6 separate regions of the Homo sapiens genome follow, and all the other regions are linked to region 4. The links are contacts of gene promoters, found by promoter capture Hi-C in blood cells and fetal thymus (Javierre and others, 2016). All regions are on one chromosome and are shown on one strand. Each heading gives the region's core, a stretch centred on a gene start or on the middle of the fragment in contact. The rest is flanking DNA. Distances are from core to core; before and after follow the strand shown.

What was found. Contacts are between HindIII fragments. The CHiCAGO score rates a contact against its expected background, and 5 or more counts as called.
Region 1: a fragment that was not itself captured here is called in contact with the fragment with the promoter of ANKRD49 in region 4 in 4 of 17 cell types (naive CD8 T cells, neutrophils, total CD8 T cells and 1 more); the score reaches 9.4 in naive CD8 T cells.
Region 2: a contact is called between a fragment that was not itself captured here and the fragment with the promoter of ANKRD49 in region 4, in 2 of 17 cell types (total B cells and naive B cells). The highest score is 8.0, in total B cells.
Region 3: a fragment that was not itself captured here is called in contact with the fragment with the promoter of ANKRD49 in region 4 in 4 of 17 cell types (total B cells, total CD4 T cells, non-activated CD4 T cells and 1 more); the score reaches 7.6 in total B cells.
Region 5: a fragment that was not itself captured here is called in contact with the fragment with the promoter of ANKRD49 in region 4 in 1 of 17 cell types (fetal thymus); the score reaches 5.4 in fetal thymus.
Region 6: a contact is called between a fragment that was not itself captured here and the fragment with the promoter of ANKRD49 in region 4, in 8 of 17 cell types (naive CD4 T cells, fetal thymus, naive B cells and 5 more). The highest score is 9.8, in naive CD4 T cells.

Annotation. Positions count from the first base shown.
Region 1 is chr11:95,796,163-95,799,814 of GRCh38, forward strand. CEP57 (centrosomal protein 57) reads left to right here. Exons shown (of 11, transcript NM_014679.5): 2 at 3,070-3,226. Among named protein-coding and RNA genes, the nearest start is that of CEP57, 7.5 kb to the left of the region's middle. The HindIII fragment of the contact is 3,381 bases long and covers 315-3,652 here.
Region 2 is chr11:93,187,009-93,190,671 of GRCh38, forward strand. All of the region lies in intron 1 of SLC36A4 (solute carrier family 36 member 4), which reads right to left. Among named protein-coding and RNA genes, the nearest start is that of SLC36A4, 9.2 kb to the right of the region's middle. The HindIII fragment of the contact is 5,393 bases long and covers 1-3,663 here.
Region 3 is chr11:93,217,170-93,220,969 of GRCh38, forward strand. No RefSeq gene overlaps it. Among named protein-coding and RNA genes, the nearest start is that of SLC36A4, 21 kb to the left of the region's middle. The HindIII fragment of the contact is 2,880 bases long and covers 1,070-3,800 here.
Region 4 is chr11:94,492,734-94,496,416 of GRCh38, forward strand. ANKRD49 (ankyrin repeat domain 49) reads left to right here and starts at 1,251. Exons shown (of 3, transcript NM_017704.3): 1 at 1,251-1,302. It overlaps MRE11 (MRE11 double strand break repair nuclease), which reads right to left and starts at 1,111. Exons shown (of 20, transcript NM_005591.4): 1 at 1,058-1,111; 2 at 49-173. The coding sequence starts at 68. RefSeq lists an enhancer at 1,461-1,550. The HindIII fragment of the contact is 5,313 bases long and covers 1-3,123 here.
Region 5 is chr11:95,772,577-95,775,876 of GRCh38, forward strand. All of the region lies in intron 9 of FAM76B (family with sequence similarity 76 member B), which reads right to left. Among named protein-coding and RNA genes, the nearest start is that of FAM76B, 16 kb to the right of the region's middle. The HindIII fragment of the contact is 4,010 bases long and covers 1-3,300 here.
Region 6 is chr11:96,423,437-96,427,314 of GRCh38, forward strand. No RefSeq gene overlaps it. Among named protein-coding and RNA genes, the nearest start is that of JRKL, 35 kb to the left of the region's middle. The HindIII fragment of the contact is 1,011 bases long and covers 1,582-2,592 here.

The sequences.
Region 1 (3,652 bases), core at 755-3,254, 1.3 Mb after region 4:
ATATGCATTTTTAAATTATGCTTCATACTTCACACAGTGTCATAAAAAGATGTTCAATAAATATTTGAATTATGTGTTCCTAAATGAGATATTTGCCCTAAGAACTAAAGGCTGCAGGAAAAGCTAGTGATCAGGTTAAACATTTTGCCTTTAATCCTGAAAGTTTCTCCTACAATCATATTTTGGTTGGAATAATTTTTACTGAATGCTTAGGGTCATGGAGAGATTAGTGGATTGGGAGTTAGAATTGGGCTCCTTTCTACGCAGCCTTCCTATGATATTTGTGCTATTTGTTAAATATAAAGAAGCCCAAAAGCTTTTGGTGATCTCTTAAAGGGTTGTAGTGATTTTGTTGAAAAGGATAATCTTTTATAAGTAATGTGCAGTTTCCTGTTTTGCGGAGGAAATGTATAGTTAATATTCAACAGATTTATTGAACATAATAAAACTCCTTTATTAGAACTTAATTTCTCCAGCAAAAATTCTACACCAACTGGGTGTACTACAATTATTTTAATTCTGACACTGCCCAGATGTTGCTCAGACCCCCATACATTAAGGGGCTCCGTTTCACAAGACTGCCTGCCCCCAAGTCAGTCAGAGTTCGCAGAGCATCTGCATTTCTGCTCAGCTGACTACAAATTATGGGATTCCTGCAGCTTTCCAAGAACGGCTCACAGTACTCAGGAAAGACTGTTCTTAAGCAATTTCAGTTTTATAAAGGACACAACTCAGAAACAGCCAAATGGAGGAGACATAGGGCAAGGTGTGAAAGGGCTTCTGTATCCTCTGGTGCAGCACCTTCCCAGCATATCAGTATGTTCAACAATCTAGAAGCTCCCCAAACCTCATTATTCAAGAGTTTTCATTGAGCTTTCATTACATAAATACATAATTGAGTAAATTATTGTCCGCTGGTCACTGGGCTCAATCTGTCCCTTACCTCCCCTAAGGTCAGGGCCTAGGGCTGAAATTTGTGACTCTTCCCCCCCACCCCACCCCCCTCCCAACACACACACACACAGACGGAGTCTCACTCTCTTGCCTAGGCTGTAGTGCAGTGGCCCAATCTTGGCTCACCACAACCTCCACCTCCTGGGTTCAAGTGATTCTCCTGCCTTGGCTTCCTGAGTAGTTGGGATTACAGGGCACACCCCCACACTTGACTAATTTCTTTGTATTTTAGTTAGAGACAGAGTTTCACCATGTTGGCCAGGCTGGTCTCGAACTCCTGACCTCAAGTGATCCGCCCAGCTCGGCCTCCCAAAGTGCTGGGATTACAGGCATGAGCCACCATGCCTGGCTGAAATCTGTAGCTCTTTATAATCTAGTGGTTGGTTTTTCTGGCAACCAGCTTCCAGAAGATGCCTTCAAACCTGAAGCTACCTAGGTGCCCTACCTTGAGTCCCTTCATCAGCCTAACAAGGATACCCTATCACTTAAGAAATTCTAGGAGTTTTTGAATCTGTATCTGAAACCAAGGACAAAAGACTAAATATATTTTTTATTATACCACAGGGCATACAGATAATAAAAATGTATATGTCATGAGGAGTGATATAAAATAGTAAAGGGCAAGCCCACTAACATACAAAATGTAGAACAGAGGTAGTTCCATTTGGGGAACTAGTTTGTTAGTTAATCACATAGTTAATGGGATTCCCCTGACTGGGCAGAGGGTGGTCGGCAAGTCACTTAATATTTTTGAATATTAAATGATAGGATTCTGGTGGGTTGTAAATAACCAATGAAAACTTGAGGTTCTCTGTGACATTTAAAATTAAGCTATGCAGTAATTGAGGATGCTTTGCAAGACCTTTGACAATATTATAAAGAATTGAAAACTCATCCTATTTTCCAGTTACCTGTAAAACCAGATGCCAATTTGCCATTAAGTTTGGAAAATGACAAATACTAGTCTTTGTTATATATGAACATACTATAGTAGACTTAGCACTTATTTATTTGAGTACCACTTTTAAGACTTGGCCCTACCCTCCTAAGCTCTTTGTCCCCACTTTTGATTGTCATAGCCATAGTGTGTTTTATATTTATATAAATAGAAAATGTTTTATATTTGCTTTCTTAAATCACCTGGAAATTTGCATGATTTTTAACATGGAAGTAAAATCTTTAATTTTAAATAAGATTTAAATACAGTGCAGGTATTTCGATAGCCTTTGTTTCAGGAGATTGTTTACTGTTTTAAATATTCATTGTGCTCTTGTACTTTTATGAACACGGATTATTCTGGTAAATGTAAATCTTCAAAGGTAAGAATTGAAAAACATAGTTTGCTGTGGCCGTTTGAGGAAGGAAAGTGGATGAACATTTTGAATAGCTGGTAGTCATATCTTCCACCTTAGCCCTCAGCTTCTTAGTTACTTCCCCCAGTCTAGGACCATCTGTCAGTAGGAAGTCGCCTACAACAAATAAAACTCCACAGTTAGCATCTCCTGGGTTGAAATTATTATGTGGAATCCTAAATTTAACAGAATCTCATTCATGACAGAATGGTGTACTGTGGAAATAAAGTTTTATGTTTGAGTGTTTGATGGGCCTTAATGTTTTCTAATTATTTTCTTTTTTGTTAATTAAATGTAAAGTATTTGAGGCAAGGACAGTGCCTTATTTTCTTTCTGGAGTTTTGAATACTATAAATATTCAAGTAGTAGTTTGTGGATGGGGAATAGAGTAATTCAGTCATTTGTAGCAGTTTCTGGTCCTGTAAAAATAATGTTTTTATTTTTCTGAACGTATATTTCACAGTATATATTTTTAACTGCGGTATTTACATTCATTGTATCATTTAAGTATTTCTGCACAGCATTTGTATTCAAGTTGTATGAACATTATTTTCTTCTTGTGTCTGGCATATGGCTATATTCAGACTAATATGAAACACTTTAAAAGTTGTATTTCTTTAATGATTGAATTGTATTGTTTCTAGTCAGTGGATTTTTTCTGTTGTCTGTATGGACAGTCAATCTCAGTCATAAATATTTGTGATTTAAATCTGCTATTTGTGGTTCACACTTTTGAAAGGTAATTTGTGTCTTTATTTTTTAGAACAGCTTTGCTGAGCCATCAAGGTCTAATGGAAGCATGGTTCGGCATTCTTCATCTCCATATGTAGTATATCCTTCGGATAAGCCTTTCCTTAATAGTGATCTACGACGCTCCCCAAGTAAGCCTACACTTGCCTATCCAGAAAGCAACAGCAGAGGTAATCGAGCCTAACGAAATAAATGTTATTTGTGTTTTCTTGCTGCTTTAAAATTCTTAACTTTGTCCTCCATTATTTTGCCATTAGAGGAAAATATATTTCCCCTTTGCTTCCAGTTTCAGCCCCCAGAAAATATTATGCTTTTCTTGTATTCCTTATATTGATTGTTGAACATCATCATCCACCAAATTACTGATGCTAAAACACTTTGAGTCATCAGTGACTGCTCTGTAATCCCCACTATTAGTCCGGAATGAAGACCTTTTTTTGCTTCTGAAATATACCAAAAGCATACTGTTTTTTCTGCCTTTTTGTGTTCTCATTGCTTTGGTTCAGGCTTTCATCATCTGTAGCCCAGATGTTCATAGTACATTCCTCATTAATCTCCCTGCCTGTTTTCTCCTCCTCATCCCCAGTTAACAACAT
Region 2 (3,663 bases), core at 474-2,973, 1.3 Mb before region 4:
GAGGGTCTCATGGGCACAGTGTTCCCTGAGTTTTTACACGTTTCACACTGTTTTTCTTTATAGCCTGGATACTTGAGGAACAACTAGATATAAAATCCTTGGCTCACACTTTCATTCCTCGAGTTTCTTGAAAATGCTGTTCCACTTTTGCCTTGCTTTTATATGCTACTTTTGAGAAATCTGATGGCAGACTAATTTTCTCAGCCATTAAGTAACTTGTTCTTTTTCCTAGAGTTCCTGAAGATATTTTCTTTGTCTTTAAAGTCTAGTAACTTTACTACATGTCTTGGGGTTGACCATGCTAAGTCAGTTTTCCCAGGGCTACAGTGGGCCCCTTTTGATATGTTGATTTAGGTTTTTTCTTATTTCTACTATAAAGTTTTCTTGGATAATAGCTTTAAATATGTATTTGGTTCAAATACTTCTTCTTTAGATATTTCAATTACATGCATGTTGGGTCTTCTTTGCCTGTCTTCCATTCAACCACTTTATATCTCTGACCCTTCTGATGTCTGTCTTTACCTCATTCTCATTCATATCTGCCTTAAGTGACACATTAAATTTTCATTTCAATACATTCTCCCTTACATCTTGTAATTTATTTCTTATTTGTGATTTTTCCTATTTCTAAGTATTTCATACACAGGAATCCTAGTTCAAGAGTGTTCCCTCTGTCACTATAGTGAAGTTCAGTTTATTTCAAAGACAATGTTGAGCTGTTAGGGGTGAGCAAAAGCAGCTGGCATGTCTTCTAGTTCTCTTTCATTTCTGCAGGACCACCAATTTTCCCCATTACTTTGTTCTTTCCCTCCCTTGCCATCTGAGGGGCATCTCCACTGCTCTATTTATCTCTCACCTCCAGAAGCAATGTTTTGTCAAGGCTTCCCCCTTCAGTCCTGCTCAAATTCACATTCCTGTACTCAGTGCTATGAATTACTAACTTCTAGACCTGACCTCTGTTTAGACGTTTAACAGTTTAAATTAGACTTTCTCTTTCTGAAGGAGATTTTCATGGTGCTTGATCCAGTTTCCTGCTCCCCGCTCTTCTTTTCCAACGAAATACTAAAGACTCCCCTCCCCCACTCTCCATGCTTGTAGCAGCAACAAAAATTTTCTGTTTTTATACTTATAGATAATTTGAGGTTCATGGTATCCTTGATCTCCTCGCAATGCTAAAAGAGTAATTTCATGAATGGTTTACTTGTGCTTCAAGTTGAATTCACAGGTTTTAGGGGAGGATGTGTTGAGAGATCAGGATTTTAGCAGGCTCCATTAGCCCAGTGCCAACTGGAATTCAGCATATTCATTCTTAATAAGAGTAAAGTGATGCCTTAAGATACTGGAAGATGCTTGAAAACAGTCTATAAAATTATTTACATATTCTTCTTCTAATAACGTAACTAATATGTGTAGAGTAAAATTCACAGAATTATCAGTTCCAAATTCCTGAAGTCAAAACTGATGAGGATTTTCTATAATTCAAAGTTCCCAACTTTTCTTTTGGCTGGTTTTTCTAACCCTTTAATCTTTAGGACATTCTCCATACATTGTTTTGTAGGATTTCCTTGTTTCTTGTTTTCCAGTTTCAAAGGTGGCACGGTCTAGAACTATACACAGTAAAAATTGTTTCCCCAGTATTAGGTCTACTGGGATATCTACTATCTCACATTTACTCTAGAAATTTATTATGTTCACCTTCTGTTTGGATAAAGCCTATATCCTTTTCTGTTATACTCTATACAAAATACACTGGTACTCTTGTAAACCTATCACATTGGTTTCCTAGGGCTCTCATAATCAAGTACTACAAGAGAATTTATTGCCTCAAAGTTCTAGAGGCTATTAGTCTGAAAAAGTGCTGGGAGGGTTGGTTCCTTCTAAAGGCTGGGAGGGAAAGCTCTGTTCCAGGCAGGCCTCTCTCCTTGGTTTATGGACAGTCATCTTCAAGTTCACATGACATTCTCTCTGTAATCATGTCTGTGTTTAAATTTCCCCTTTTTATAAGGACACCAGTCATATTGGATTAGGGACCCTCCCTACTCCAGCAAAGCCTCACCTTTTTTTTTTTTTTAGACAAGAGTTTTGCTCTTGTTGACCAGGCTGGAGTACAATGGTGCGATCTTGGCTCACTGCAATCTCTGCCCCGCCAAGTTCAAGCAATTCTCCTGCCTCAGCCTCCAGAGTAGCTGGGATAACAGGTGTGCACCACCACGCCCAGCTAATTTTTGTATTTTTAGTAGAGACAGGGTTTCACCATGTTGGTCATGCTGGTCTCGAACTCCTAACCTCAGGTGCCTCAGCCTCCCAAAGTGCTGGGATTACAGGCATCAGCCACTGCTCCTGGCCATGGTCTCATCTTAACTAATTACAGCTACAATTACCCTATTTCTAAATAAGGTCACATCCTGAGGTATGCAAGGCTATGACAACATATAAATTGAGGGGTGGGGGGACTATTTAATCCATAACAACCATCATTATTAGTTGTATGAACTTCAGTTTCAACCATCAGTATGTTAATATTTTTATTCCTAAATGTACTCCACTGCCCTTGCTGACTAGAGTTCATTTGCTTTTATTCATTTAGCTTATCCAAATTATCAGTTATTTGACCTTTCTGATTTCTTTCTGTCAGGGAGTGTGCAGTATGTTCTGTGCTGTACTAAGCATACTATCTGTCCTCAATAAAGATAGTTATCACTACCAATATTTCAAAAACTGAACAATCTGTTATTTAAAGCACACTGCCCAAGAGATCACAGCAGTAAGGAAAGTACGGAAAATGGTAAGTTTTTTCATATCTTTAACAACAATATGAACTCTAAATGATGTTTATTTGTAATGGCATTATTGAAGAGTTTATTTTTAATATCATTTAAAATAAACCTGGAAATCTAGAATTGTTAAAATTACCTATAAATACTAGTTTTGTAATTCACAGAATTAAGTTTTTAAAAATAGTATTACAATGTTCAGAATCCGAAGTAAAAATTAGTTGGGACCTCCGTCACTCTGAACAAACTCACATTGTTTAGCAGCTATCATATTTATTTAACTTTGTTCAACAGTGTGATCCCTATTATTACACTTTTCCTTACTTCTTAAAGTCATTAATTTTCAATGTTACATTTTCTAGAAAACATTAAACATGACTTACTGTGAAAAATAGCTTTTCATATATATATTTGCTTTAAATTCATCTCATCCTTCACGTTTAAAACCTTAACAAAAATTTAATTATTCCTGGGTACAAAAAATACAGATAGGTAGGAGGAATAAGATCTAATGTTCTATAGCACAATACGGCAACGGTAGTTAACAATAATTTGTTATGTATTTCAAAATAACTAGAGAAATGGATTTGAAATGTTCCCAACACACACAAAAAAAGGATAAATATTTGAGATAATGGATATCCCAATTATCCTGATTTGATCATTACATATTGTATGCTTATATCAAAATATCTTATGTACTCCACAAATACGTACAATTACTTGCCCACAAAAATTTTTTTTATTGAATTATTCCAGGAAACTCCTTTAACTCTCTTATAATGAGATTAAAGTAAGTTAATTTTTCGAAGTTTAAATAATTTGAGATTAAAATACTTCTTAATAGTGTTAGGAATTTAAGAAGTACATATTTATTTACTATTTTGAT
Region 3 (3,800 bases), core at 1,260-3,759, 1.3 Mb before region 4:
AGAACTCAATTTAAAATAGTAAAAATGTATTGAGCAACTGCCATGTTTTGAATATGATTTAGTACCTGACCAAGATAGAGTTCACCAACAAGGTTTCACTTCACCAGGAAAGGGAAGACAGGTACAAAAAGCAAAACAGAATCTAGCAGATACCCTAAAAGGAATAGAAACAAAGTGCAATGGAAACACAAAAGAAGGAAAGACTAGTTCTGATTTAGGGGGTGGTAAGGACTTCATGGAAGTATAAGGTATTATTTATCATTATCATCATCATAACAACATTAACTGCTATTACAGAGGGTTTATTATGACCCCATAACTACTCTAAATACTTTAAGTGTATTTTACTCTAAATTAGTCAAACTTGACCTTGAAGGAGGGTGTAATTGAGAGAAATAGAAATGGAGAAGAAAGGATATTCCAAGTGGCAAGAGCAGACTAATGAAAGGCATGATGTCAGGAGGCATTCAGGAAATAGTAACTACTGTGATCACTGTTTGTCAGACTTTGGAATATGTAAGGAATTAAAGGAGACAAGGCTTGAAGCAGAAGTTGGTGCCCTAAATATCACAGTGAGAAATTTGAGATCTGTTCAGTAGGCATTGAGGTTCCATTAAAGCAATGACACTTAATTGTAGGTCTATATCAAAATCCCTGGGTGGGGGTGGGGGGGTGAGTTTCTCAAAATGCCCATGCCTTATTTCTGGAAACTGACTGAGGAAGTCTTATTTGCAGCCCAAGAATCTTCACTTTTTCAGAACTCCTCAGCAATTTTTATGAACATCCCTTGGAGAACCATTGAAAGGCTTCTCTTCTGGGAACTGTCATGATTAAATCTGAGTTTTAAAAGACTTAAGCAGCCATGTAGAGGATGACTGGGTAGGGCACAGCCAGATAGTTGGGCACTGAGTTAGTAAACCCCTGCAGCAGGAAGGGAAATGTAAGGAGACTTGACGGGGGGTGCCTGTGGGCGTGTTCTGCTGAGGTGAATGTGTGTCAGGGTCAGAATCAGCAGGGCCTGTGCATTGACCAGATGTGAAGAGGGAATAAGAGATGACTCTGCTATTTAAGCTTATGCTGGGAGGATGGTACTGTTATTGATTGAGATTAGAAAGATAGAAAAAGGATCATATTTGAGGGCAAAAATAATGAGTCTAGTTTTAAGCATATTAAATTTGAGATGGTAATAGGTGATCTTAGGTGAGTTGAATCAGAAATATACATTTAGATAACCAGAAATGTACATCTAGAACTTGGATGTCTTGTTGCTTGACTATGCCAATAGAATATGACCATATATATAGTCATGTTCTCTAGACTATGTCTTCAAAATATTCTGAATTGAGGTGGAGTGTCTGGCTCATTCAAATTTTGTTTTGTTGATTTGAATAAGTGAGAATGTAAAAAAGATTCTCACAAATAATATTTTAGGAAGGGCCGGGCGATGGCTCATGCCTGTGATTCTAGCACTTTGGGAAGCCGAGGCAGGCGGATCACCTGAGATCAGGAGTTCAAGGCCAGCCTGGCCAACATGGTGAAACCCTGTCTCTACTAAAAAATATAAAAATTAGCTGGGCATGGTGGCATACACCTGTAATCCCAGCTACTCAGGAGGTTGAGACAGGAGAACCACTTGAACCCGGGAGGTGGAGCCTGCAGTGAGCCAAGATCATGCCACTGCACTCCAGCCTGGGTGACAGAGTGAGACTGTCTCAAAGCAAAACAAAAAAATTTTTAAAACATTTTAGGAAGCAAAACAAAAAAAATTTTAAAACATTTTAGGAAGTCTTTCATTCAAGGGTGAGGGAAAGAAGAGGAGTGACAGTGGGGCCTGAGAAAATGCTGCAGGACAAGGAGCCACAAGAATGCACAGGCAGCAAAGACACAGAAAAACAATTTCAGCAGGGAAGGGGATTCTTCAGTGTTCAATGCTTCTGAATTGTTAAAAAGGGTAAGAGAATTAACTGGTTAAGAATTAACCGGTTAATTAGGTTGTAAAGGGTAGAAGCTGACTGTCACTAGCTTAGACAGAAAGAAAAAAAGGAATTTAACGGCAGTGCCTAAAGGAGGATTCTAGGAGAGCTCACAGAGAGTCAGCGGAGGAGATGAACAACCAAGGTTCGGGAAGGGTAGGAACCAGGGCAGCTCTGGGGGCCTCCTAGGAATCTATGACCCCTCTCCCAGGTGGTGCAGCCATTAATACAACTCTGCTCCAGAAAATTCTGCACCTCTCCAGTCCATGCTCCATATCCTACGAGAGGGAAGTAACCTAGCTTGAGTGTGTGTCCCTATTTTAACTATGGCCAGGGAAAATGTCAGCAAAGCAAGGCATTCACTCCTTTCGGGGGCTAGCACTAGACCCCAGGGAGAAGAGGTCACTGAAGGTTAGCTCTACTCCAAGAAGCAAGTTCCACTGGAGTGTGGAACTTGTAGGAACCAGTTTGCAAGGTGTGTTCATACATGCAAGAGGGCAATGATGCATGACAGTGCTGTTTCCAGTCCCTCGACCATGAAAGGAAAGTAGCCTGAGAGTTGCAGACTTGAGGGCAGGGTTTTGGGGGCAGTGGAGACTTGACTATATTTGTAGACTGAAGCTGGATCCAGTGGAGTAATAAATTAACATACAAGAAATAAAGGAGGTAATTAATGGCACAGAGACCTAGGTGATGACCAAAGACTTCAGTCAACAATATACTGAATAGAAGGGATCCTGAGGAACTTCATGGAATTACCTATGTATTATATACAAGATAAGAGGAATGTCAAAAAGCAGGGAGATTGGATAGTTGCTCTCTGTATATAGGGGTGTCAGTGAAGTGGTCAGAAGAACTTGAGATGCTTGCACAAGGAGAAACAGTGAAATCAACAGGCTACAAAATCAAAGCAGAGATACACAAAAACTCTTTAGAGATGAAAAACTGGCCTGTGGGCTTGCAAAAGTTTGCTATAACCAAGGTAGATATATTAACTTGACTAAGCAAATAATACATACATTAAAAAGTGATTTTTGTGACTTGGGCACAGAAAAAGCAGGAAAAGTCACTGAAGCCAATGTTAGTAATTTCCATCTTAGCACTGTCCTAGAGAGGCTGTGACCTGGCCAGTATTTCCAGTTCTGTGGGCCAGAAACTTTCTTACCCTGAAGCCATTAAACAGTCAACTTTCTTAGCTTGTATTCTGCATTCAGGACAACCTTCCTCTTGATTATGGTTAAGCTAATCTCTTAAGGAAGACTGTGTTTGTCAGATAAACCTATGCAGTAATTTCTTCTGAAGGAATAAATTAATGGTTTCTGATTTTGATTGGACTTTTCATGGCACTTGGCACTGATCATAAGGACTCCAGAATTCTTATAGTAATTTATTATTGAAAATTAATAAACTGATGCCATGGTTGGAGCAGACACTGCTAATTGCCTATCCAATATCTGTGTTTAGTAACACACTATCACCAGTGGCCCATACATGGCCCTCTTTTATTGATTGATTGTATTAAATTATTGAAAAATAAAAACAATAAAAATTTAAAACTACAAATAACAGATACACTGGTTTGTATTCACTCTTGTAAGTTTGATTATTGTGCAGAACTAACACCTGAGATAAGTGTTTCTTCCTATGGATGAATAAAATTACAGTTCCTGGCCTGCATGGGTAATTTCAGGTCATGATGCTACCTTGGGAGGCCTGTGAGAGGTCATTAGTGGTCTCTTCCTGGTATATGTGCCCTTGGCATCATTGTTTGTTCTCTAGCCACTGTAGAAGAATGCTGATCTTTCTATACTGGCCATTTGGATCAAA
Region 4 (3,683 bases), core at 1-2,500:
GCTTTAGAAACCCCAAATAACAAGGGATTCCAGAAGTCAGGTGCTTACAGTGCATCTGCAGTACTCATTTTTATGGTCAGTCAAGCTCCTCTGGGACCAGGTTCTTCTCCAAGAACCCCTGGGTACTGTACTCAAATGTCAGAAAATGCACTCGATTCCAAATTCTAGAAATTCTAAAAACAAAATTACATCATAAAACACATTTTTTAAAAGCCTGCACGTATTTAACCAACATGATTTACGCTGCACAAGGTACAGACGTCTTAATTAGACTGGCAAATTTAGAAGTCTCATTTTCATCTAAGCACCCACTATACTTTTTTTTAATGAACTGAGCATAGAAAATAATATATCTCCAGTGTACATCCTGTTTCCTAGTTTCACCAAGATGATTAAACTCCTATTTTCCTTTCCCGTGCTCTTATGGGAAATTAATGTATGCTAAATAAATGGGCAGAAAGGGTCACATACGGTTCTGGTTCAACACACAAACAACTCTAGATGTGCAGATATTTTTAAGTTGCACGCATAGGTTACTCTGGAGAACAGAGGCAATCCTGTATTTCCTATTCAAACCCCACGATTTTTTTTAAAGGACCTGGCTAGTTTGGAAAAGGGAACGGGCCCGCGTTTAAAGCGAGTGTAAATAAACAAACACGTGGTCTGCGGAGGAACACCTTTAAGCACCAGCAGGATGACTGAAAATAGCCAGGTTTGGGGAAGAGTGGCTGCCACCGCGAGACAACCCCCACCACATCTGGAGCTCCAGATTCCGTCGGGATTCCAAGCCTCAACACGCCCTCACCGCAGGGAACCTCGGAATCAGAACGCTGAGCCCGCCAGGACCCCTCCCCTGCCCACTCGGCCCGCTCTTCCCGAGGTTCCAGTTAACTCTGGGCTTCCGCCTGGGAACCTGCAGAAACAGGAGACGAATGCGATTCCTAAATTACCCCACTGCTGGACTCTTCGAAGCCCCACAATCGCGACCCAAGGCTGTCTTCTTTTCGGGAAGAAAGGGCAGGATCCGTGAAAAGAAAACAACACGGTCTGAACTTGCCTCTGAGAACCCGCAGGGCCGTAAACCTGAATTCCGCGGGAGAGAACGGCGTCCGTTTCTCTCGCGACACTTCATGGATAACGTAGATGCTTCAAGTCCAGTTCGGCTCTCATTGGCTACCGCACGCAGTGAGGGGGCGGGGAAAGTAGCGGCGAGGCCCCGCCCTCACGCAGGAGCCAATCCTGAGCAGGCTAGGAGACGAACCCGGAAGTGAGATGCAAGGCGGCGATTTTCCCTTCTGTCAGGTGGGTTGTTATTCCCTGTCCCGGACCTCGCTTTTTGATGGACCGGCGCCATCTAAGAACTCCTGAGCCCGTGGGGGTGGGTAGCCTGTGGACACAGGCCGAGCCCTGCAGGTCAGGCCGCTTCGTGGTCCCCAGGTAGGACCGAAGCCGCTTCTCCGCTCTTGGCTGTTTGGAAGGCCGCAGGCGGAGCTCACGGGCCTGTGAGCTCCCGGCTGGTGGCAGAGTGCCGGAGCTGGATCCCCTCTCCCTCCCTCCCAGTCGCCAGACCCTCTACAGGTGTCGCCCCTAGGTCCTTGAGTTCAGCACATCTGCACTGCTTTGTGCTGAGAGCAGTAAGATGTATAGTGCAGCGAAAAATAATGTAGAACTTTTGAATTAGAACGTCTGCCCTTTCAGTTCCATTGAAGGGTCCTTGATCTAGGGCAAGTTGTTTTAATCTATCTGAACCTCCTTCACCAGTAAGGTTTATAGCCCCGCCTATCACTGAGTTGTTTGTAAGGAGTTGACATAGTTCGGATCTCTCTCAAAATAGGATATGCCCTTTAAGTTAGGAAACATACCCTGACATTCCTGATGGAATATCAGGAATATCATCATCAAGTCATCAGTTTTGTTTCTTAACTGTAAGTCGGGTAGATGCGCCTAGGCTTGGCTTTTTAAACTAAATATACCAGTAAAATTTTGTACATAATTTTTTGTATCTGGATCTGTAAACTCAAAATTTATATAAAGGGAGTTTTTATTGAAAGGAAAAGCATGTTGGGGGAGAGGGTAAGATCTGTGGTATAAGGTTACTATATTTGATATAATTACAAGTGAACTTTTATTTATTAGCATCTGTTAAGTGTTTAATGAATTGATGTATGGTCATTTTTGTGTTGCAAGGTTCAGGAATTAGTTTGAGAATCAAAGAAAAAGTGGAAGCTCCAGGAGAATTAATAAAACACAGAGCAATTCTGATTGGATATCTCTGATTCCAAGGGTGTCTCTGATTGGGTGACTGAAAAGCCGGATTGGCCTTAGGAATACTTTAGTAAAATTCTTACATTTTACAATAAAGTAACAGGACCAGAAAAGTTACTGGACATGAGTAATACATTTAAACTTGAGTTTAGTGCTATTGCCACTAGTAATAAAGTTTAATACCACATTAAGATTGTATACTGTTAAACTTGTGAGATTAGGTATCAAGAAATCAGTATCTTGGGGTTATGCCTAACTCTGGAACTTCTCAGAATCCATTCCAGGCAAAATCAAGTGACAAGACTTTAATTAAATGTAATGCTACACATACTTCTTAATGCCTTCTATAGACAAGTAGGAGATAAATATAAGTTAAATGTGGTCCTTATCTTTCAGCTTATAATCTTTTAAGGGGCTAAAACAAGAACAAAGTTAGAGGTGAAATGTAGCACCAAAAAAAGTAGAAAGCAGAAAGCGATCTAAATGAGAGGATCAAGAAAGAATGAAAGAGATAACATCAGAGAAGAGCCTTGAAAGACTGATTATATTTCAACAAATAGAGTTGAGAGGCTGGGAATTCGTATTTGTAAATTATCTATTGGTTATTCTCCTTTTCTTTAATTGATTAAGGTTTATATGTTGTGTAACCCTTTAAGCTGATATTGGTTTAAAAATTAATATGGCAGCTTAGCAGAATAAACATCAGTTCCTTCAGGAAGCCTTCTTTAATCCCTTAGGACTAGGGGAATTATGAACCTCCTGTATACTCATGGTTTCTAGACAAGGTCTTGTAGTAGTACTTATCATGTTGTCTTTGCCAGACACATGATGTCTTTGCCAGTCACCTACACTAGAGTAAGCTTCCTGAGGTGAAGACATGGATCTTGCTCATTATTGAATCCCAGTACCCAGAAGTTGGCACATACCAGACATTCTATTCATATTAGTTGAATGAAGGAATGAATGACAGCCAAAATTCAGTTGAAAACAAGGACCCAACTAAGAACTATAGTTGCCTATCAATAAACAGGACTACTTTTTAAAGCAGTGAATTTTCCTAGGCCTGAAATTATCAAAGTAGAAATAGGATAATTAGTGTAGATGCTGTGATAAAGATATATGTACCGATGACAGATTGGAACAGATGTCCTTTTGGGGGCTATTCCATCTTCAAGAATCCCTGATTCTTCGAAATAGTATTTTTAGGAATTAGAAGTTTTTATTTCTGCTCTATATTATCTGTGTGTCTAGTTTATAAAAATCTTGAATGCACCTGTCTTCATTGTATTAGTTATACTTCAAAACCTTTAAGCATTCATCACTGTTAGCATAACACCATCATACCTAAACCAGTAGATTAAAAATAATAGTTATAATAATATAATTGACTTAGAAGAAAACAACAAAAGTAAGAAGCA
Region 5 (3,300 bases), core at 492-2,991, 1.3 Mb after region 4:
TGCCCTAAAATTAACACATTTTAAAAAGATATCCTCTGACTTATGTTTCAACACCATTTTCCTTCACAGGTTCCAGGAATTTTTATTATATAGACAGACTTTTTTAATCTCAGTACTTCATATTTTATTCTAATTTTAGCTTTTTACGGGCAGATAACACTCTGCCTTCTCTGTATGCCATCTTAAAGTGGTTTCATGAAATAACCTTTTTCAAACTTTATTCTTCCATTCCCCCACCCTTCTTCTCCAATCACTCTTGCTAATTAACACCCATGACCTCTAAAATGCAAATATTCTCAGTACTATCTTATATGTGCAAATCAAATAATTTTTTATGTTCAGATGCATGATCAATAGAACTTTCCTATTCAGTGGTTATTAATAACTAAGGTGGTAACGAAAAACTTCAATTTCAAATTCAGTATCAATTTCAAATTTTGAGTCTGCAAATTTGACTCAAAAAGATCTCCACTAGATCTGTTAAGTTATATTTATCTAAAAATGTTTATACTGATACAAAATAGTTAAAATGTGAATCTCCAAGTTCTTATCTCAATTATCAAGAAATAAAGTGTTTATAATTTTCATATTTTAAGTACAAAATACAATAATTTGAACATTAGGTCTTCAAAGCAATTTTTCCATTTAATGCTTTGGTAGCTAATTTCCAATTTGCTTTTAATATATTTATATCACTAATAAAGATATTTCTTAATAAATTACATAAGACAAAAGTCTTTATGGTAAATAAATAACACAATTGTTAAGTACAAGTCCAAATTATTCTAATTTGAATACTTTAAAAATGAATTTTATGCCATATTTCAATATATGTACATTTAAATTGTTTTATCCTAAAATTACTTCATTTTGCAGCCAGCCAAAAAAAAAAAAAAAAATCAATGAAATTCTTTACAGACTCTTAAGAAAGCTAAGTTTTAAAGTTTAGACATGTTGGTGCAAAGGAAAGAATATCAGGATTAAGAATTACATAGATCCTGCTTTAAATCCTGGCTTACTTACCAGCTACATAACCTGGAGCATATTTTCTCATTTGTAACACAAACTCCACCATCCGAACTCAAAATGAGTTGAAGGAACTTATCAAATATATAAAACACTTAGCCTAACACAGTTCCTGGTACACAGAAGGCACTCAAATGTTAGGTCCCTTTTCCTTTTAACCACTTACCTAATTAAGTGAATAAGAGTTTTAACTTGATATTCTTAGTATTTTCAATATTTGGGGTATTTTGGGGTGACATTTTGAACAATTTTTTCATGTGATGTTCAGTGTTTTGTCGTAGGTTTGGCAGTTAAAAATATTTTACTAGCTATTAGAGCAAGATCCATCTTGTGTCACAGGATTCAATTCCTTATTACATAAAGATAAAAAAAAAATTACCGGTTTCCTCACCTCAGTAAAGAATCCTACTAGTATCACTTGGTTGCTAAAGGAAGTGAGGTAAAAAGATGGCACTCAGCTATGACAGATTGTCTCTAGCCATAACACAAAAAAATCAGGGAAGTGGCCTGATAGGAAGGATGAAATAGAAAACCTGAGGAACCTGAAGTGGTGGGAACTAGTGTAGGACAGGGAAAAGTATAGATAAACTGGAGTGAGAAGACAGAGATTTCTACGTCACCGCTTACTGTGTGATCACAGTTTCCTCTGTAAAATGGGCATATCACATAACCCAGTTTTTGCAACAAGTAAGACAGCATATGTAAAATCATGTCAAAATGTCCTATTTAAATATTGGTTACTTTTATACTACATGAAACTTCAATTACCAAGAGGAGGTAGGCCTAAGATATCTATCAGGCTAAGTCAAAGATGACCCCATGTATTTGCAACTATGATTTTAAAAAAGAAAAACCAACACACAAACTGCTCTTTTGAACAGTGGGGAGCACTAAGTTAAAACATATCTGAGCACCTATTGCAGTTATTCTGTTATCTCATTCTGGATTTACTTCAGAGCTTTGGTTACATTACATTAAATCAAAGATCACCAGGTGGAAGATTTTGTTCCAGGTAATCATTCAGCATTAATAACTGAGTAAGAAAAACAGGAATAACATAAAATTAAAAATAATACTTGCTGGTGGATAAAAACATTGACTAATATATAAGAATCTGATATATGATACGGGCAATCTCTCAGAACAGAGGGCTGATGGGCATTTCCATAAATCACCACCTAGTCAACAAATTATTTGAATGCCTACTATGTCTCAGGTTCTACATGAGGTTCCTTTTTCAACAGTCTTTGTAATAGTATGATAGGGATTAAGACCAGATAATCTGTACCTCGAATTTGAGCAAGTTCCTAAATCCTACTAATTTAAGCTACTTGCAAAGAAGTATGAATAATACAAAACCAAAAGAAAGAAATAGCAAATATCCTTTGGTGTTACAATGTGAAAAAAAAAAAACAAAATGAAACAGGACAGTATTAACTCCTTCCTTCTGAAGCTGTACTCTCCCAAGTCTGACGTCTGTGTGCTGCCATCTTCCATTAACATTTAAAACTTCTTTCACCTTAAAAATTTTGTTACTAAAGACTAATTTTACAAATGTGAGACTGTATAAATCAAAGAGAACATGTAATTAATTTAGTGTGGTCTGATTTCTAAATGTATGAAACCTAGAAGAGAAGCAGCTTAATATGGTAGCATTCTGTATCCATGTTGGATGTTCACCATCTCTGCATGCCAGACATCAGATTATTACTGTGGTGACTCTTGACTTTACCATTCAGTTGTTCTGTATACTTAAACTGCTACTTTGCAGTACTCTGAGGTTCAGGTGGATCACTACCTGTTAGCATTTAGCAGAACCCTATTTGGCACTTTGCGAACCACTGTACACAGGTTAAGTAAACTCTCTTGCTTTGCACACATTTTTGCCACTCCAGGTCCTTAAGAATTGGTTTTATACACCCATCTCCTTTCCCATTATCTGGAAGGAAATATTAATGTGAGGAATGATTGCTACTGAAGACCTGCTTTTCACCTTAGTTTCATTAATCTGATTTTTAATTTTTTGCTATAAGCCCAATAATTAATTGAACACACTCCAATGATACCCTCCTCCAAAAACTCCATTTGAAGTTTAGGCAAAAGTTTTCAAGATTAAAGTACTGAATCCCCCTTTCAAGTAATTTCAAACAATAACTTCTAATGAGATCAAGATTAAAAATGATTATAAAGTCAAAATCAAAACTGAAATGCACCAACTATGCACAAAATAGGGCTACCAATAACAATCTAAGTCAATGAATGCTATTACTCAAG
Region 6 (3,878 bases), core at 837-3,336, 1.9 Mb after region 4:
ACAGCCTGCCCAACATGGTGAAATCCCGTCTCTACTAAATACAAAAAAAAAAAAAAAAAAATTAGCCAGGTGTGGTGGCTTATGCCTGTAATGCCAGCTACTTGGGAGGCTGAGGCAGGAGAATCGCTTGAACCCGGGAGGCAGAGGTGGCAGTAAGCCGAGATCACGCCATTGCACTCCAGCCTGGGTAACAAGAGCAAAACTCTGTCTAAAAAAAAAACAAAAGAAATTTATTCATTTATGCAGTCATTTACTTGATAAACATTTAAAAGATATATGCCTAAGACTAGGTGGGATGGACTATGTTAACATAAGACATAATTCTTATGGAATTTATGGCCATAACTGCATCTTTAATATTAGGGAGATGTTTACTAGAGTTTTCCCATCCAATCATAGAATCTTGGATCCAGTAGGTAATGCAAATGTCTTGTGATAAAAACTTTTAAAATGTAGTAAATTACCTTGGATGACTAAACTATCTAGATGGATGGACCTTATTCTGAATTTTCTTTGAAACTAGCAGTATTCTAATAGAGTTTCAATTAATTTAATAAGGCTACTTTGACTAATAGCCATTAAAAGGTAGTATAAAATGTGACATTCCTTTTTTAAAAATTAATAGCCCTTACTTTTAGAGCACTTTTGGGTTTATAGAAAAATTATACAGATCATACAGAGAGTTCTCATATACCCCCTCTTCCATATTCCTCCCCACAATTTACCTAATTATTAACATCTCGGTGTGGCATATGTGTTATAATTAATCAATATTGTTACATTATTATTAACTAAGGGTCATGATTTACATGAGGATTCACTCTTTGTATTGTATAGTTTTATGAATTTTGACAAATACATAATGTCATGCATCTATCATTAGAGTATCATACACAATGGTTTCACTTGCTTAAAAATCCTTTTCACACCATCTCTTCATCATTCCCTACGTCCCTTTCTTTCTCCCCCTTGAGTCTCTGGTTTTAAGAGTTATTGTTATATTTTGGATAACAGTCCTTTATTAGATATGTGTTTTGCAAATATTTTCTCCCAGTCTGTGTCTTCTTGTTTCCTTTTATTAACAGTGTCTTTTGCAGAGTAAAAGTACTTATTTATTTATTTATTTATTGAGACAGAGTCTAGCTCTGTCACCCAGGCTGGAGTGCAGTGGTGCCATCTTTGATCACTTCAGCCTCCACCTCCTGGGTTCAAGTGATTCTTGTGTCTCAGAGTCCTGAGTAGCTGGGACTACAGGCATGTGGCACCATGCCTGGCTAATTTTTATATTTTTAGTACAGATGGTGTTTCACCATATTGGTCAGGCTGGTCTTGAGCTCCTGACCTCAAGTGATCTGCCTGCCTTGGCTTCCCAAAGTGCTGAGATTACAGGCATGAGCCACTACACCCGACAGAAGCTTTTAATTTTAATGAAGTCCAACTTACTACTTTTTTCTTTCATGAGTCATACGTTTGGTATTTTATCTAAAAAGTCATCACCAAACCCAGGGTGACTTAGATTTTCTACAATGTTGTTGTTTTTTTTTTTTTTCTAGAGGTTGTATTGCTTTAATTTTACAATTAAGCTTATGAAACCATTTGAGTTAATTTTTATGAAGGGTGTAAAGTCTGTGTCTAGCTTCTTTTTTTTTTTTTGCATGTAGATGTTCCATTGTTCCAGCATCATTTGTTGAAAATATTCTTCTTTCTCAATTGAATTGCCTTTGTTCCTTTGTCAAAGATCAGTTGAGTATACTTGTGTGGGTCTATTTCTGAGCTCTCTATTCATTGATCTATCTGTTTATTCTTTTTCCACCACCACATTGTTCTGATCATTATAGCTTTATAGTAAATCTCCAAGTCATGTGGTGTCAGTTCTCTGACTTCATTCTTCCACTTCAGCATTGCACTAACTAATCTGGCTCTATTGCCTTTTCATGTAAACTTTAGAATCTCTTAATAATCAATTCTCAAAATAACTTGCTGGGATTTTGGTTGAGATTTTCTTGACACTTTAGATCAAGCTGGGAAGAACTGATATCTTGAAAATATTGAGTCTTCCTATCCATGAGCATGGAATAACTCCATTTATTTAAATCTTCTTTCATCAGAGTTTTGTAGTTTTGCTATTACAGATTTGTATATATTTTGTTAGGTTTATGCCTAAGTATTTCTTCTCTCACTCTTCAGTGTTAATGTAAATGTTGTTGCGTTTCTAGATTCAAATTTCAGTTGTTCATTGCTGGTATAGGAAAGTAATTGACTTTTGTATATTAACCTTGTATCCTGAAACCTTCTATAATCACTTATTAGTTCCTGTAGTTTTTTTGTGTGTTGATTCTTTGGAATTTTCTACCTAAACATTCATGTCATCCATGGGCAAAGACAGTTTTATTTATTCTACTCAATCTTATGCCTTTTATTTCTTTATCTTGTCCTGTTTTATCAGCTAGGATTTTCAGTGTAATGTTGAATAGGAGTGAAAGAACATAGTTACTTTTTTAAAAGAAAATATTTTATGAATTTGATAGTAGAATTAGGCAATTTAATCCCATGTTAAATAAGAATATAAAATTTTGATTAGTAGGGTAGCCAAGCTTCTTATAAAATAATAAATTGCTGAGAAAACCAATTTAAATTCCCCTGGAAACAGCGATTTCTGACTGACGTAATGGATCAAAAGGAGATTTTCTTTTAAGTCAGTGTCCAGGGAGTATGTAAAACAATTGAATAAGGAACCCCTCTTATATTAAATACAAAGCACCCAGAGGAATAAAAAAATCAATAAACATACACACATACATGCAAGACACACCAGGGAGCATATAAAACATATAAAATATTCTCATTTCCTAATTCAATTTGATAATAACAACTAATTTTAAAAATCAGACCTTTAGTGACTATTATGGAGAGACATAGTGGGTGAAAGGAAAGAAATTTTTTAGCATCATTATAGACTACCAGATACCTTTGCTGTATTAAGATTTTTTTAAATGGAAAAACAGAAGAGATAAGGAAGAATAGAAACAAAGGATGACACAGTCACATGTTCACAAGACAAAGAAACGCAAACACACATACTCACTTCATACTGGAGTTGCAAATGTGAACTAGCACAGCTAAAAGGGAGAGACAATTACAGGGACTCACAAAATTACTATGTAGGAGGCTTTCATGTGGATGAAGAGACAGGATAACAAGCACCTGCGGAATAAAACACACACACACACGCACACACACACACACGCCCACCATGAAGCTCCGTTCAAAATTCAAATGCATATAATCTGCAGAAAAACAAAGATACACTCATTTTAAAGCGTGTATCCCTGACACATTTTAAAGTGGATATCCCTGTTTCCATTTTGTTTTATAGATGGTTTGATTCTAACTTCATTTGGAAACATAGATGATCTGAAATCTTAATTTTTGAGAAAGAAAACCCAAATTTAGTCTTCAGGAGAGTTTTAAATATCTTGAAACAAAACAGGGGTTGGGATGCGGGAGCAGGGCAATGGGGACATTTAAGATGGAGTAACATCCCCATCTTGTGGTATATCAGAATATTGACTCTTCTTTTTAACACTATTTTGATTTAACATAGTTTTGGGTAAAAACATATCTAACTTGATTATGGGAACACGAGAGAGTAGTGACACAGGAAATTGAATCTGCAATTTCTCAACCCATTAAATTGTTCATCAATGCTGAACTAATACAAGAGTTACATTAATAAGCGGCAGGTTTAATTACTTAGCAGATGGCTGTTCAGTGTTCACCTTAATGTTATCAGACTCAGCAAAAACAAAGAGATGACCCGCATTTGTATCTATCTGTTCTACAATATATTGTCTAGAGGTTTCATTTTTTATTTTATT